2 separate regions of the Homo sapiens genome follow, and region 1 is linked to region 2. The links are contacts of gene promoters, found by promoter capture Hi-C in human tissues and cell types (Jung and others, 2019). All regions are on one chromosome and are shown on one strand. The core of a region is centred on a gene start or on the middle of the fragment in contact, and the rest is flanking DNA. Distances in the headings are between cores, read along the strand shown.

The links. Contacts are between HindIII fragments. The study calls those that stand out against the background at their distance.
Region 1: a contact is called between a fragment that was not itself captured here and the fragment with the promoter of USH1C in region 2, in 1 of the 25 tissues and cell types used here (dorsolateral prefrontal cortex).

Annotation. Positions count from the first base shown.
Region 1 is chr11:17,342,375-17,349,334 of GRCh38, reverse strand. It overlaps LOC124902640 (a long non-coding RNA gene), which reads right to left. Exons shown (of 2, transcript XR_007062608.1): 2 at 3,290-6,960. It also overlaps a transcript of NUCB2 not described here. Among named protein-coding and RNA genes, the nearest start is that of NCR3LG1, 5.9 kb to the left of the region's middle. The HindIII fragment of the contact is 3,839 bases long and covers 2,389-6,227 here.
Region 2 is chr11:17,538,765-17,546,073 of GRCh38, reverse strand. It overlaps USH1C (USH1 protein network component harmonin), which reads left to right and starts at 1,658. Exons shown (of 27, transcript NM_153676.4): 1 at 1,658-1,802. The coding sequence starts at 1,767. The HindIII fragment of the contact is 3,601 bases long and covers 1,464-5,064 here.

The DNA.
Region 1 (6,960 bases), core at 3,059-5,558, 200 kb after region 2:
TAAGAAATAAAGTCAGTAAGCTACTCTTATTTAAAATGTTCTCATTTTCAGCAGAACCTAATCCTAATCACTACAAATGAGTAAAGGAGCTGAGCCCATTTTGTTTGGAGTAGCCTGGGGGTTTAAGAAATGGTACCAGTCTTGTAAGTCTCTGAAAAGCTAACACCTGTGTATGTGAGTACACATGTTAGGTGATGTTCTTGAAGGCAAAAGCAAGTTGGAGAGAGATTTTGGCTCAGTATAAGAAAAGCTTTCTGCTGGGCGCGGTGGCTCACACCTGTAATCCCAGCACTTTGGGAGGCCGAGGCGGGTGGATCACCTGAGGTCAGGAGTTCGAGACCAGCCTGGCCAACATGGTGAAACCCTGTCTCTACTAAAAATACAAAACTTAGCCAGGTGTGGTGGCAGACGCCTGTAATCCCAGCTACTCGGGAGGCTGAAGCAGGAGAATCACTTGAACCCGGGAAGCGGAGGTTGCAGTGAGCCGAGATCAATGCCGTTGCACTCCAGCCTGAGTGACAAGTGTAAGACTCTGTCTCAAAAAAAAAAAGGAAAGGAAAGCTTTTCTATTAAAGGAATGGGACATTTCAAGTTGCCCCTCAGCAACAATTTATTGAACTCTGCCAGGCACAATCTAGGAGTGACGAATTCAGCGATGGCTAAAGCACAGTCCTTAGCTTCAAAAAATCTGTCTAGGCCAGGTGTAGTGGCTTATGCCTGTAATCCCAGCACTTTGGGAAGCCAAGACAGGAGGATCACTTGAGCTCAGGAGTTTGGAATCAGCTTAGGCAACATAGTGAGGCCCCATCTCCACAAAAAAAATCAAGATATTAGCTGGGTGTGGTGGTGTCACCTATATTCCCAGCTATTTGAGAGGCTGAGGTGGGAGGGAGGATGGCTCAAGGCCAGGAGGTCATGGCTGCAGTGAGCCATGATTGCACCACTGCACTCCAGCCTGGGTGACAGAGTGAGACTCTGTCTCCAAAAAAAAAAAAAAAAAAAAAAAAAAAAAAAACACAAAAACAAACAAAAAACACCTCATTCTAGACCATTGTTGTTCCAAGTAGCTGTGCTGAAGGACTCTTTAAAAGTGTCCAACCTGGCCAGGCATGGTGGCTCACCCACTTTGGGAGGCAGAGGCAGGAGGACTGCTTGAGGGCAACAGTTCAAGACCAACTGGCCAACATAGCAAGATCCTGTCTCTATTATTTTTTCTTAATTCTAAAAAATAAAAGTAAAAATAAAAAATAAGTGTCCAACCCACGAAGAACTGTCATTTTGTGAAATAAAAATGAATTACTAGAGAAATGAAATAAAAAGACATAAAAATCCAAGCCCTCAATTTTTATTCTTAGATTCAAAAGACATAAAATTATTTTTGAATTGCTATAAAAGTTTCCAACAGCATGAGTAATGTTGGTTGGCCTTCTCACCATTAGGTAACAGCCAGGCATAGACCAGCACCAGTCACAGACCACACTGTGAGAAAGACCAGTCTAGACAAATGCAGATTGAGAGCCATTCTATAAAACAAATGACCTGTACTCTCAAAAAATGTAAATGTCATGAAAGACAAAATACAACTGAGGAGCTATTCCAGATCAAAGGAAATTAAAGAGACCTTACAACAAAATCCAACACACAAATCCTGGATCATGAAAAAATTATTATAAAGGACAGTATTGAGACAGTTGGTGAAATTTGAATACGGACTATGTGTTAGATTAATAGTATTGTAACAATGTTAAATTTCCCAAATTTGATAATTATATGATGGTTATGATTAAAAAAATATTTGTTCATAAGAGATGCTCACATATTTAGGGTAAGGGATCACAATGTTTGCAGCTTAATTCTGAAACGCTTCAGTCAAACAAAGAATTGGACAGAAAGAGTGAAAGCAAGGTATACTAGAATTTGTGAAAGGAAAATATTTTGGGTCCCCAAAATCACTAAGGAAAACTCAAGATGAAAAACTGCTTAGGGTAAACCTGTCTCCTGTTGCCCTGTTTCTATTCAGTCACTCCTCTGCTCACGGAGATAGATGCATATCTGACTTGCCTCCTTTGGAAAGGTAGAAACTCAAAATGGGAAACTCAAAAGAACGTAACCCTTTGTGTATCACCTGTGACCTGGAAGCTCCCACCGCACTTAGAGCCTTCCTGCCTTTGCTTCAGGTTGTCCTGCCTTTCCAGGCCAAACCAATGTACTTCTTACATATATTGATTGATGTCTCATGTCTCTCTAAATGTATAAAACCAAGCTGTGCCCCGACCACCTTGGGCACATGTCGTCAGGACTTTCTGAGGCTGTGTCATGGCTGTGTCCTCAACCTTGGCAAAATAAACTTTCTAAATTAACTGAGACCTGTCTCAAATTTTCGGGGTTCACAAATTCATTATACTATCGTTGCAATGATTTAATTTTTTTTCAAAATAACAAACACATAACAAAACTAAATGCAATGTGTGATCCCAGATTGGATCTTAGCGCAGAAAAAATTTATAGTAGGATAACTGGCAAAATTTGCAGATTAGTTTATAGAATTGTATCAATGTTAATTTCCTGATTGTAATACTTTTACTGTAGTTATATAACATGTTGATATTTGAGGAAGCTAGATGAAGGGCATATGGGAATTCTTTATACTATTTTTGCAAATTTTTTGTAAGGCTAAAATTATTTAAAGTTGGGCAGCTAGAAGTCCTAACACCCAGTCCAGGACTTTCCACTATACCAACATCATGGACTCTGTCAGTGTGCTATCTTATTAAATGGTTCTTGAATTTAAATGGAAATATTTATTTATCATACAACACTGAAGGGTAGGGAGTGTGGCTATAAATGCTCTCAATGACATCTAAATGCTTATTAGACTCTTCATAACATCAGCCAGGTTTCCTTTCCATTATGGATTCTCTAATGATGAAAAAGAGTGAGGTGCTTTTCCACATGATTTACCACTGGTTCCCAAACTTGTCTGCATATTAGAATCACCTGGAGATGGGACCCAGGTACCAGTATTTTTTGTATCTCTTAGGTGATTCCAATATGCAGACAAGCCTGGAAACCACTGTGATTTCCACTTCAATGCTATCACTGGAAGACTTGAAGCAGGAGGTGGATAACCACTTACTAGCCATGCTGGAGAAGGGGTTCCTTCATTGGAAGATAGTATCTAAGGCCCTTACTCAGGCTCTATGACTCTCTAATATTGGTGTTTTACAAATAATCCATTCTATTAACATTGTCAAATCTTTTTTCCCAGAAAATTACAACAAATATTACATATTTTTCTAATTTTACTTTTAATATAATTAGAAATAAACCTATACAAACAACGACTAGAACAATATTTTCCAAAAAATATTGCACTGGAAGAATTTTTACAACATATATTTATAAAATGAATTCAAATGTAACAAAAATTATATAAAGTCTCTGTTTTTCTGATTCTCTATCAAATTAAAATCCAATTATTTATTTATAGTTTTAAAAATAGGCCAAATATCTAAATAAGCCAAGAAAAAATAAATCTAAGTAATCTTCAAGCTAGTAGAACTTTTTCCAAAATTTAAAAATAACGTTTTCAGCCCCATATTTATAAAAGGTTACTTTTCTTTTTTTTGAGACGGAGTGTCGCTCTGCCACCCAGGCTGTAGTGCAGTGGTGCGTTATCGGCTCACTGCAACCTCCGCCTCCCGGCCTCAAGTGATTCTCCTGCCTCAGCCTCCTGAGTAGCTGGGATTACAGGCGCCCACCACCACGCCCGGCTAATTTTTGTATTTTTAGTAGAGATGGGGTTTCACCATCTTGGCCAGGCTGGTCTTTAACACCTGACCTCGTGATCCACCCGCCTTGGCCTCCCAAAGTACTGGGATTACAGGCGTGAGCCACCGCACCCAGCCAAAAAGGTTACATTTTTAATTCAACATTTAAATTGAAAATTTTTCAATATTCTCCCAATAATTAGTAATAACAAATAAAAGCTCTTTAAAATCTTGACTTTAAAATAGGATATGTAAACCATCATTCTTAAATGGTTCTAAGACATAATTAATATTGGTAAAATATGGATTACACAGCACTGGTTTTCTTTATTTAAAAAAAAGCAATAATGGATAGGTTTTTTTTTCATGTTTTAGTTCCAGAAGACAATTTTTTTTTCAGAAGATACTGAATGGTCTTCCATCCAGAACTATTTTAGTCACAAGCTTACACACATTTTCCATCCAAAAATAAGATATTTCTATTAAAAGCTATACAAATTGGTACACAGACAGCATTTACTACACAGATACTATTTCTAAAGTTGCAAGGTTTCTAATTCTCATGTGTGCTAATAGATACCAGACTAACAGCTTCAGGAAAGATTAACCCTCCTTTCACTGTCCCTGAAAGGGGGATCCATCTTCCACCTTCAGCCTCCAGAGCTCTTCCATTCTTAGGTCCTGGAACTGGACACAGGGGCTCGGACAGAATTATCAGGAAGTCACCAGAGCCATAGCAGAAGAATGAAACAGTCACTCTAGGCATTAACTGACTTCAAATTGCTGTCCTTACAAAAATACTTAGCCTCTGTTTTATCATTTATATAAATCTTTTAGAAGATAACCCTGTTTTAATATAGTCACCTAGTCTTAATTAGTAATACAAAAGGCTTCCTTAGAGAAAAGATCAATAGCTTGGGATTGTGAGGGAAGGGAAGAATTTGTTTGAAAGGCCTGATAATAGAGTCCCATAAAGCTGGTGGCTATGAAACTTTAAGACTGAAAATGGTGCTAGGACCTCTTACATGCCTCAAAGCTTTCTCCAGTGATTAAGAAGGTGCATTAGAAATACAATAGTGGGAAAGTCAATACAAAAGTGGGAAAATGGGGGAGCGCATATAGAGAGGAAAGAACTTCTTGATTAAAATTCAGGTCATCCAGGCAAAAGTAGTGAAGAAGTAATAAACTAGGCTACTTTTCTCCTAACCAGAGATTGCTGAATTAACACCCTAGTCTTTCCGTATCAAAGATGTTTCTTCCTGTATTAACTGTAAGATGAATAATCCCTGCTGAGATCTATAAAGTACTATAGATAGGCTTCTGCTTATCTTTAAAACCATTATTATTTAAGGAGGATACAAAAAAGTCAAAGAACTGAACAGGGACATTCATCAGAGCATCTGACTGCTACGTATTTGCCCCAGATGCTGGTTCACTCAATCAGAGAGGAGTAAGGAGTCAGGGACCCACCCCATGAGTCAGAAATTCCCCTGCAGAGATACAAGAACTCTCTGCAATTGAAACCAAACCAGGAATGAGGGCCTGCCTAACTAGCTCTAGAAAAACTGACTTTTCTGCAAAGGTGCTTTTTCTTTTCCCCAAAAAATCAACCTTGAACCTCAATGAAACATACTATGAACATCAAAGGGAATAAATACACACACATATCAAAAGAAATAAAAAATGATATGGGATTAGGACTGAGATTTAGTTAGAAAAAAATTAAGATGCAAATTCTAAGATATATTACTAAGTGTCATAGAACAAGAAAGAATCACTACACAAAGTTGATAGGGATTTTAAATAGTCATGTTTGATAAAAATACTTCAATAAATACCTCCATAAAACTGTTTAAAACATTAAAGGACATAGTAAATATGCTTTAAAAAGGAAATCATCTATATATCACTACTTTAATAAGGAAATATTTAGAAAGTTGTCACACCAAGAACAGAAAGGATAAAATTCAAAAGTAAAACAACTCCAAATCACCTTAACAATGGAGGACAGCATGGAAGCAAAATAGGCCAAACAACATGGTACAAAACAAATACAACATGGCACAGACTGCATATGTGCCTCACACCCCATGCACAGAAAATCTAAAGCAAGGGCGGGGATTTAATTAAATGACACATACTCTGACATCACTAAAAATGCACATTGAAAATGAACTAAAGTTGAGCAGAAATAACATGTTAAATGCAATGATTCATGGGAGATAGCAAAGAGAACTAGATGCAATTTTTTTTTCTCTCTCACCATTAAATCAATTAAAAGACACAGACTGGCAAATTGGATAAAGCGTCAAGACCCATCAGTGTGCTGTATTCAGGAAACCCATCTCATGTGCAGAGACACACATAGGCTCAAAATAAAGGGATGGAGGAAGATCTACCAAGCAAATGGAAAACAAAAAAAGGCAGGGGTTGCAATCCTAGTCTCTGATAAAACAGACTTTAAACCAACAAAGATCAAAAGAGACAAAGAAGGCCATTACATAATGATAAAGGGATCAATTCAACAAGAAGAGCTAACTATCCTAAATATATATGCACCCAATACAGGAGCACCCAGATTCATAAAGCAAGTCCTTAGAGACCTACAAAGAGACTTAGACTCCCACACAATAATAATGGGAGAATTTAACACCCCACTGTCAACATTAGACAGATCAACGAGACAGAAAGTTAACAGGGATATCCAGGAATTGAACTCAGCTCTGCACCAAGCAGACCTAATAGACATCTACAGAACTCTCCACCCCAAATCAACAGAATATACATTTTTTTCAGCACCACACCACACCTATTCCAAAATTGACCACATACTTGGAAGTAAAGCTCTCCTCAGCAAATGTAAAAGAACAGAAATTATAACAAACTATCTCTCAGACCACAGTGCAATCAAACTAGAACTCAGGATTAAGAATCTCACTCAAAACCACTCAACTACATGGAAACTGAACAACCTGCTCCTGAATGACTACTGGGTACATAACGAAATGAAGGCAGAAATAAAGATGTTCTTTGAAACCAACAAGAACAAAGACACAACATACCAGAATCTCTGGGACGCATTCAAAGCAGTGTGTAGAGGGAAATTTATAGCACTAAATGCCCACAAGAGAAAGCAGGAAAGATCTAAAATTGACACCCTAACATCACAATTAAAAGAACTAGAGAAGCA
Region 2 (7,309 bases), core at 409-2,908:
TTCCCCTGGATAAGGACATTCATTCACCTCTGCCAGGATTCTAAATACAAAATAAACAGCCATATGACATTCTTTTCCAATGTAGAGAATCAATGAAGTAAGTCGGAGGGGAATGCATTTTGTGTGGCCTTTTCTGGACCATTCAAAAATCCCACAAGTCTTTCCATTTTATCGCTGACTTAATAGTTAATGCTAAGGTGAGAAAACAGATCATATTTTAAGGTTCTTCTCCAAGAGGGATTTACATCTTAAACTAGGCAACAAAAATAGTGTGCTTGTAAAACTTCAGCTATTGGGGAGAGGGACGCAGAGGGGTGTTTAGGTGCCCCAGAGTTACAATTGTAAGTGGTTACCTGATGTAAGCTGCTGTCCATCTCCTTGCCCCTGCCCTTGACAGGGCACAAAGGGCTCAGGTGCCTCCCTGGGTTAAGTTCAGGCACAAGCCCCATACTTAGCCTCTGATTTACACATTTTTATCACCCCTCTCCTAGCCCCTCTTTCCTTTCATCTCTTTCCAGGCCTGGTTCATCATTGTCTTTGATGAATCTTTCCTTTCATTCCTTTCCAGGCCTGGTTCATCATTGTCTTTGCACCAAGCACTAGACCTAGGAGTTAAGCAAATGCTGACCAAATTGAATTAAATGAACCAGAGGGTCTGGGCCCTGGGTGAAGGTCAGCCATAGATCAAAATGTCACTGCCAGGCTCTGCCAGGCTTCGATGGATATGTGAGTGTGTTGGGTTTGGGTTTTGTTTTGTCTTGTTTTGTTGGGGGTGGAGGTGTTAGGGAAGGTGGGAGGGGAAATCAGTTGAGGGGGGCACTCTCACACACACTGATTCAGACCCCTGCGGCCCACAGTAAAACCCAGCCCTGTCCCCAAGGAATTCACAGAACAAGGATTGATTTCTCCCTGGTGGAAAAGTGCAGGAGGAAGCCAGGACTGAAGGTACGCTGGAGGTGAGGGCGTAGCAAGGGCTGACAGTCCAGGAGGGCCATGAACCTCGACAAGAGTATCCAGAGAAGGCCGGGCGCGGTGGCCCGCGCCTGTAATCCCAGCACTTTGGGAGGCCGAGGTGGGCAGATCACGAGGTCAGGAGATCGAGACCTTCCTGGCGAACACGGTGAAACCCCGTCTCTACTAAAAATACAAAAAAAAAAAATTAGCCGGGCGTGGTGGCGGGCGCCTGTAGTCCCAGCTACTCGGGAGGCTGAGGCAGGAGAATGGCGTGAACCCGGGAGGCGGAGCTTGCAGTGAGCCAAGATCATGCCACTGCACTGTAGCCTGGGCGACAGAGCGAGACTCCGTCTCGGGGGGGAAAAAAAAAGAATATCCAGAGAAAACGGACTAGATTGCCCCGCCCCCCGCCCGTGTAAATAGTTTCCGTATCTCTCTATTCCGGTCCCCACAAAAAAGTCCCAAACCTCCTCCCTACGTCTCCACGATCTTCTTCCTCAAACGCATGTGTTCAGGTACCACTTCCAGAGAAATACCAGCTTGAAGCCCAGCTACTGCCACCTCAGGCCCATAGGCACACTGGGGCCCATTTGCTCCCAGGCTTCAGTGGGAGGCGACGACTCAGCACCTTCGACTCCAGCCTCGCAGCGGCCCCGCCCCACAGAGGCCTGGCCCCGCCCCTCCGCGCTCAGGCCCCGCCCCCAGCTCCGAGGGCGGCTGGCCCGGTCGCGGTCGCGGCTCTTTCCAGCTCCTGGCAGCCGGGCACCCGAAGGAACGGGTCGTGCAACGACGCAGCTGGACCTGGCCCAGCCATGGACCGAAAAGTGGCCCGAGAATTCCGGCATAAGGTCAGAGCTGCAGGGCGCCCCAGGCTTCTGGGACTCCGGAGTCCTGGGCGCGGTGGGTAGGGGGTGGACACCCCGGCACTGCCCCTCCCTTTTCCGGCCCCACCTGATGGCTCTGGTTGGGCTGGGACACCCGAGGGTCGTCTGGCTGGCAGCAGGGATCCCCAGTAAAGTGAGGGAGGGAATGCGGGGACTCCCGGCTCAAGGACTGCTAAACGAGTCGATCTTCTGCCAGCCTTTCTCCCTCTGCCTTCCAGGGGCAGGGACGTCTCTGGGGTTTGAATTCCTTCCAGTCTTGGCCGCTTTTCTGAGGTGCCCCCTTTGTGGGCAAGCCCCTCTCCTTCCTAGTGCCCCCAGCTCAGGGCTGTTGAGGCATGTGGAGACAGTCTGGGGCAGTATCTGAGAGGTGAGGGTTGGGAGAAGGGAAACTAGACGTCTCTCTCTCTGCCTTTTGACCTCAGAACATGAGTTAGAAGCATTTCAGCCCTGCCTGCCTAAGGGCGTTTCTTAGGGTCTGAGAAGTAGCTGAGGAGCTGGTGCTGACCCGGGTGCGGTGGGGAGGAAGGGAGGAGGTACTGAGGGCGTCGGAGCTGGGCTCTGGCCGGCCAGATCCTTCAGGCAGAGCCGGGTCCACCCTGGTGTGTCCCAGTGAGGGGCCTCACTGGTGGTCTGGGATTCTCAAGGACCATCTCTGGAAGTGGCCAGGTTTCACACAGGGCATTTCGAGAATGATTCACAAAGCTGTGCAGAATCTGCTGAGGCCCTGAGACCAGAGAGGGCCATCAAAGAGATCCAGCCTACTTCCCCACCAAGTCTTAGGATGCCTCTGAGTCTGGGGATGAAGCCGCTTGGGGGGGGTGGGTGGTATCTGGAGCTCCCCACAGGCCCTGCCTGAGGGGCAGGTAACTATTGATAACTTAACTATTGATAACTGTGTGACCCAAGGCTCTCCCAAAGACCCCAGGGGCAGTGTCTTTAGACCAAGCCAAACCTCTTCCTGGTTTGAGAGCTGAGCTCAGGTAGGGCAGGTCAGGGTGCTTAACTCCTTCCTTCCCATAAAGAGGCCCATAGGAGCCCAAGGAGCTAGCCAGTGTAGGGGCCACAGGGGCTTGGGGCCAAGGGCCCGGGGTCAGTTATTCATTTAATAAGCATGTTTTGAGCATCCTCTCAGCCATACCCAGTCTGTGCCCTTTGCTGGTGGTGTAGGTGGGAGGCAGACCCTACCCTGGTAATTACCCATGTCTGAGTGCTGCGTGTTGAGGCCAAGCTTTTGTAGGGGCACAAAGGGACAGCTCAAACTGGCAGAAGGCTCCTGAAAACAAGGTCTTGGGCATTTCTGGTCCTGCTCCCAGGGGTGGGTGATAGCTGGAAGTTCAGCAGGAATTTAGGGGCTGGCGAATACCAAGGGGAGCTTGAGAGAGCATTCACTGTTACATCCTGTTGCAAAGAGACATGTCGGAAGAAATTTCAGCCACTAAGGACATTTTGTGAGTGTAGATTTCAGGCAACCCAGTTTGAAGGAGCTCAGCCTTCCATCCCCCAACCCAAGACTCAGGGTTGAATTTCAGTTTCCTGCCCCTGGCCTGAAATAACATCAGGTCTTCTGCCTTCACTCTGTGGGGTACCTGCTCTCTCTTTTTTGTGAGAATCATCTCCAGGGTCCCTGGTGTCTGATGCAGATCCTGGGTTTGCCCTGTTCCTCTTCCCCAGGTCCCACAGGCTCCAAAGGGCCTCAGACCTCCACGTTTCCTCTGCCCTACTCTTCCTCATCGCAACAGTCATTACTTATTAATATCCCTGTGTGCAGGCAGGGCAGGCGCCATGCGCTAGGCAAGGCCCAGGCTGGACTTTGTGCCCTGCTGCCTTGGAGACAGCCACAGCCTTCCCCTCCCAGGTTGGGGATCATCCAGGAACTGGGGAGAGAGGATGAAGCACAGAGGATAGAAAGGAGGCACACAGACATGCTGGGAGAAATTTACAGCTTGCTGTTGTTTGCTTTGTAGGGGTCCCTTCCTTAGTGTTTTGGAAGAAATGGTTTGTGATCTAAATCCTTAGTTGTTGGAAGTAATATTTAAGGTAGTGTGTTATAATGGAAAGTGCTCTGTGACCTTGAGCAAGTTACTTAATCTCTCTGTGCCTCAGTGCTCTTACTTGTGAAAAGAGATAACAATATTTAACGAATAAGGTTACCATGAATGCTGAATGAGACCTACATGTGTGTGGGGAGCTTAAATAGACCCTGGCACTTAGGGAGCTCTCAAGAAATGTCCATGTTGATTATTATCTGGAGTTAGCAGAACTGGGACCAAATCTTAGCCCTGTCACTGTCAGGAAGACCTTGACCAAGCCACCCACTCTCCCTGAGTTTTAGTTTCTTCAGCTATGAGATGGAGTTTGTAGAACTTACCTCACAAGACAGTCAAAACTAACTAGCAATTAAAGTACTGGCTGCTCTGGGCCCACAGTAACCACACTGTTTCCAGCTGATACCTGCAGAGTGTCCAGTGGGAGCCAACAGGCTCCAGGCATCGACTCCCTTTGATTTGTGAAGTTACCCCAAGGCCGCCAGGAGCACTTGCATACCCTTCCAGTAACTAGTAGCAACCTTGGGCCAGGATGTGGGGGAGCAGGGCTTGGTCAGAGACTGTTTTCTCCCTCAGAGAACCAGCTTTCAAAGGGAGACTGCTCTTCTGTTCGCAGCACCAGCACAGGGTAGGAACTTGGTTACTCATTGGCTTAAAAGTATTTATTGCCTCTTCAGCAATCATGCATTTATGAGCATAGCTGTGTATTCTGCCTGAGGCCAGGCATCTGACAACCGGTTGGGATGAATAAGATCAGAAAGAGCCACCACTCTCTAGGAATTTGTTAATCATTCATTTATTCACATAGGCAATAAATATTGACTGAGCCCTTAATATATGCCAGGCAGTACTCTAAGCATCAAAAAACAAAATAAAGCCCTTGCTGTCTTAGACAGTACATTCCAGTAGGGAAGACAGGTAGTTAAAAGGAAATCAACAAAAGTATCATACAATGCCAGATAGTGATAAATTCTATGAAAAAATAAACTAAGATGGGGAGAGAGAGATAGTAAGTGACAAGGTAGGCAGTCACGAAGGCCTCTCTGAAGAGGTGACATCTGAGCAGAGACCTAGAAGAAGTGAGGAGAAGGAGCCACAGAGATACATGTAGAAGAGCATTCCCTAAAGTGGAAGCAACAAGTGTGAAGGCCCTGAGGCAAGCAGATGCCCGCCTGTATGGAACAGCAAGTAGGACAGTGTGTCCCAGAGGAATCGTGAGTGGAGAATGGTGAGAAATGGGTCGGAGGGGTGGTAGGGGCCTGGTAGGCCATGGTCAGGTCAGGATTTTCTTGTAAGTGTGAATGATTTACATTTAAAAGGAATTGTTCTGGCTGCTCTGTAGAGAATCCACTGAGGGGCCCAAGAGTAGAAGGGGACCTCAGTCAGGAGGCTCCTGCAGGAGCCCAGGCCAGAGGCAGGGGCTCGGACTCGGGTGAGAATGGGTCGGATTCAGGATACATGTTAAAGGAAAAACTGACAGGCTTTGCTGATGGATTGGCTGCGAGCGTAGAAAGAGAGGCATCAAGGGTGAATCCACATTTGGTGGAGACGGAGCAGGTTGGTGGAGACGGAGCAGGAGGTGGTGGAAACCTAGCGTTCCACTTCGAATGCTGTAAGTTTGAGACGCCTGCTAGAGGTGACTGAGAAGGCTGTAGGTCTGGCCTGGAGATAAGCATCGGTAGGTCCTTGGGGGTGTGAGTGGTATTTAAACCCCTGAGATGAATGAGGTCACTTAGAGAGACAGTGCAGATGGAGAGGAGACCTAGGACAGAGCCCGGGGTACCTCAACTTTTGGAGGAGAAGGAGCAGCAAGCGAGGAAGGAAAGCAAGGAGAAGCAGGGCGTGATTGCTGTGCCAGGCACAGGGTGAAATACTACAAACTAGCTGACATGTCAAGAGCCTCTGAAAAGATGAAGGGCACTGTCTATGTCCTTGATGGTGGTGATGCTTTCACACGTGCACATTTATCCCCAAACTCATCAGGTTGTATACACTAAATATATACAGCGCTTTACATGTCAGGCATACCTCAATAAAGTGGTTCCAGAAAAAGAAAAGAAGTCAGGTGTGGCGGCTCACGCCTGAAATCCCAGCATTTTGGGAGGCTGAGGTGGGAGAATCACTTGAGTCCATGAGTTTGAGACCAGCCTGGGCAACATAGCGAGACCCCATCTCTACAAAAAATACAAAAATTAGCCAGGTGTGGTGTTGTGCACCTGTAGTCCCAGCTACTTGAGAGGTTGAGGCAGGAGAATCAATTGAGCCTGGAGGTTGAGGCTGCAGTGAGCTGTGGTCACACCACTGCACTCCAGCTTGGGTGACAGAGTAAGACCTGGTCTCAAAAAAAAAAAAAAAAAGAAAAAGAAAGAAACAGAAACAGAAAGAAAAGAAAGAGAGAGAGACAGAGACAGAGACAGAGAGAACCCTAGACAAGAAAGAAAGAAAGCAAAAGAAAAAGAAAAGATGGATGATAAGAAAATGAGAGTCAAATAAAGCCTGGTACCACTGGGATGCACACTCTAAAGGCCTGGGAAGAAGTGTGGCTGGATCTATTCATCCCACTAACATCTACAGAGGGCCACTCGCTGCCCACTGCTGTGGATATAGAATTTATGTCCACTTATTGTCACTTAGTTTTATGTAACAAACACAGGACTTACTACCTGCCAGGCACTGTTCTGAACTCTTCATAATTATTAACTCATTAAATTAATACTAAAAAACAATGATTAATCTCTCATAGTGATTAAATCCCATTTTAAAAAGAGATGTTAGTCCTCATTTTACAGATAAGGAAACTGAGGCACAGAGAGGAGCAGACCCAGTTGGGGAAGGGGTTCTTTGGCTCTACCACCACACTCACAAGCCAGGCCTGTGTCTGGGCCACACACAGGCTTGTGGGGAGACAGGAGGGTAAAGGGAGAAAGTTCAGCACAGCTTGGTGAGTCCCATGGCAGAGTTGGGGACAAAGTGCTGTTGTGTGCACAGAGAAAGATGTGGCCAGCTTTGTGTGGGAGCCTAAGGAAAGACTTGGCCAAGAAGAGGCGACATTTGAAGTGAGTCTTAAAGATAGAGGAGGAGTCCACAGAGAGGAAATACTGCTGGTACCACCATTGCTAATGGCTAACCAGGGTGGCAGCAGGGAGCAGGTGGCTCGTCCAAGGGGGAAGCCAAGAAAGCTTTATGAACAGGTTCTACAGAAAAGGGCAGGATTAAATGACCCAACAAGCTGCACCCTGGGGCCAGATGCAGGAGGCCAGCATCCCTGAAGGGGCCAGTAGAGGGAAGGTTACCAGAACAGGTGAGAACCAGGGCTGCCAAAGAGGCCCAGACAGCAGCTGCAGCCTTGGGTGGAGGAACCTGCCTAACTGTGGCCCAGCAGCCAGCCCCCAGGGACTAGGAGCCTCAGTTCCTGTCTCCCCACGC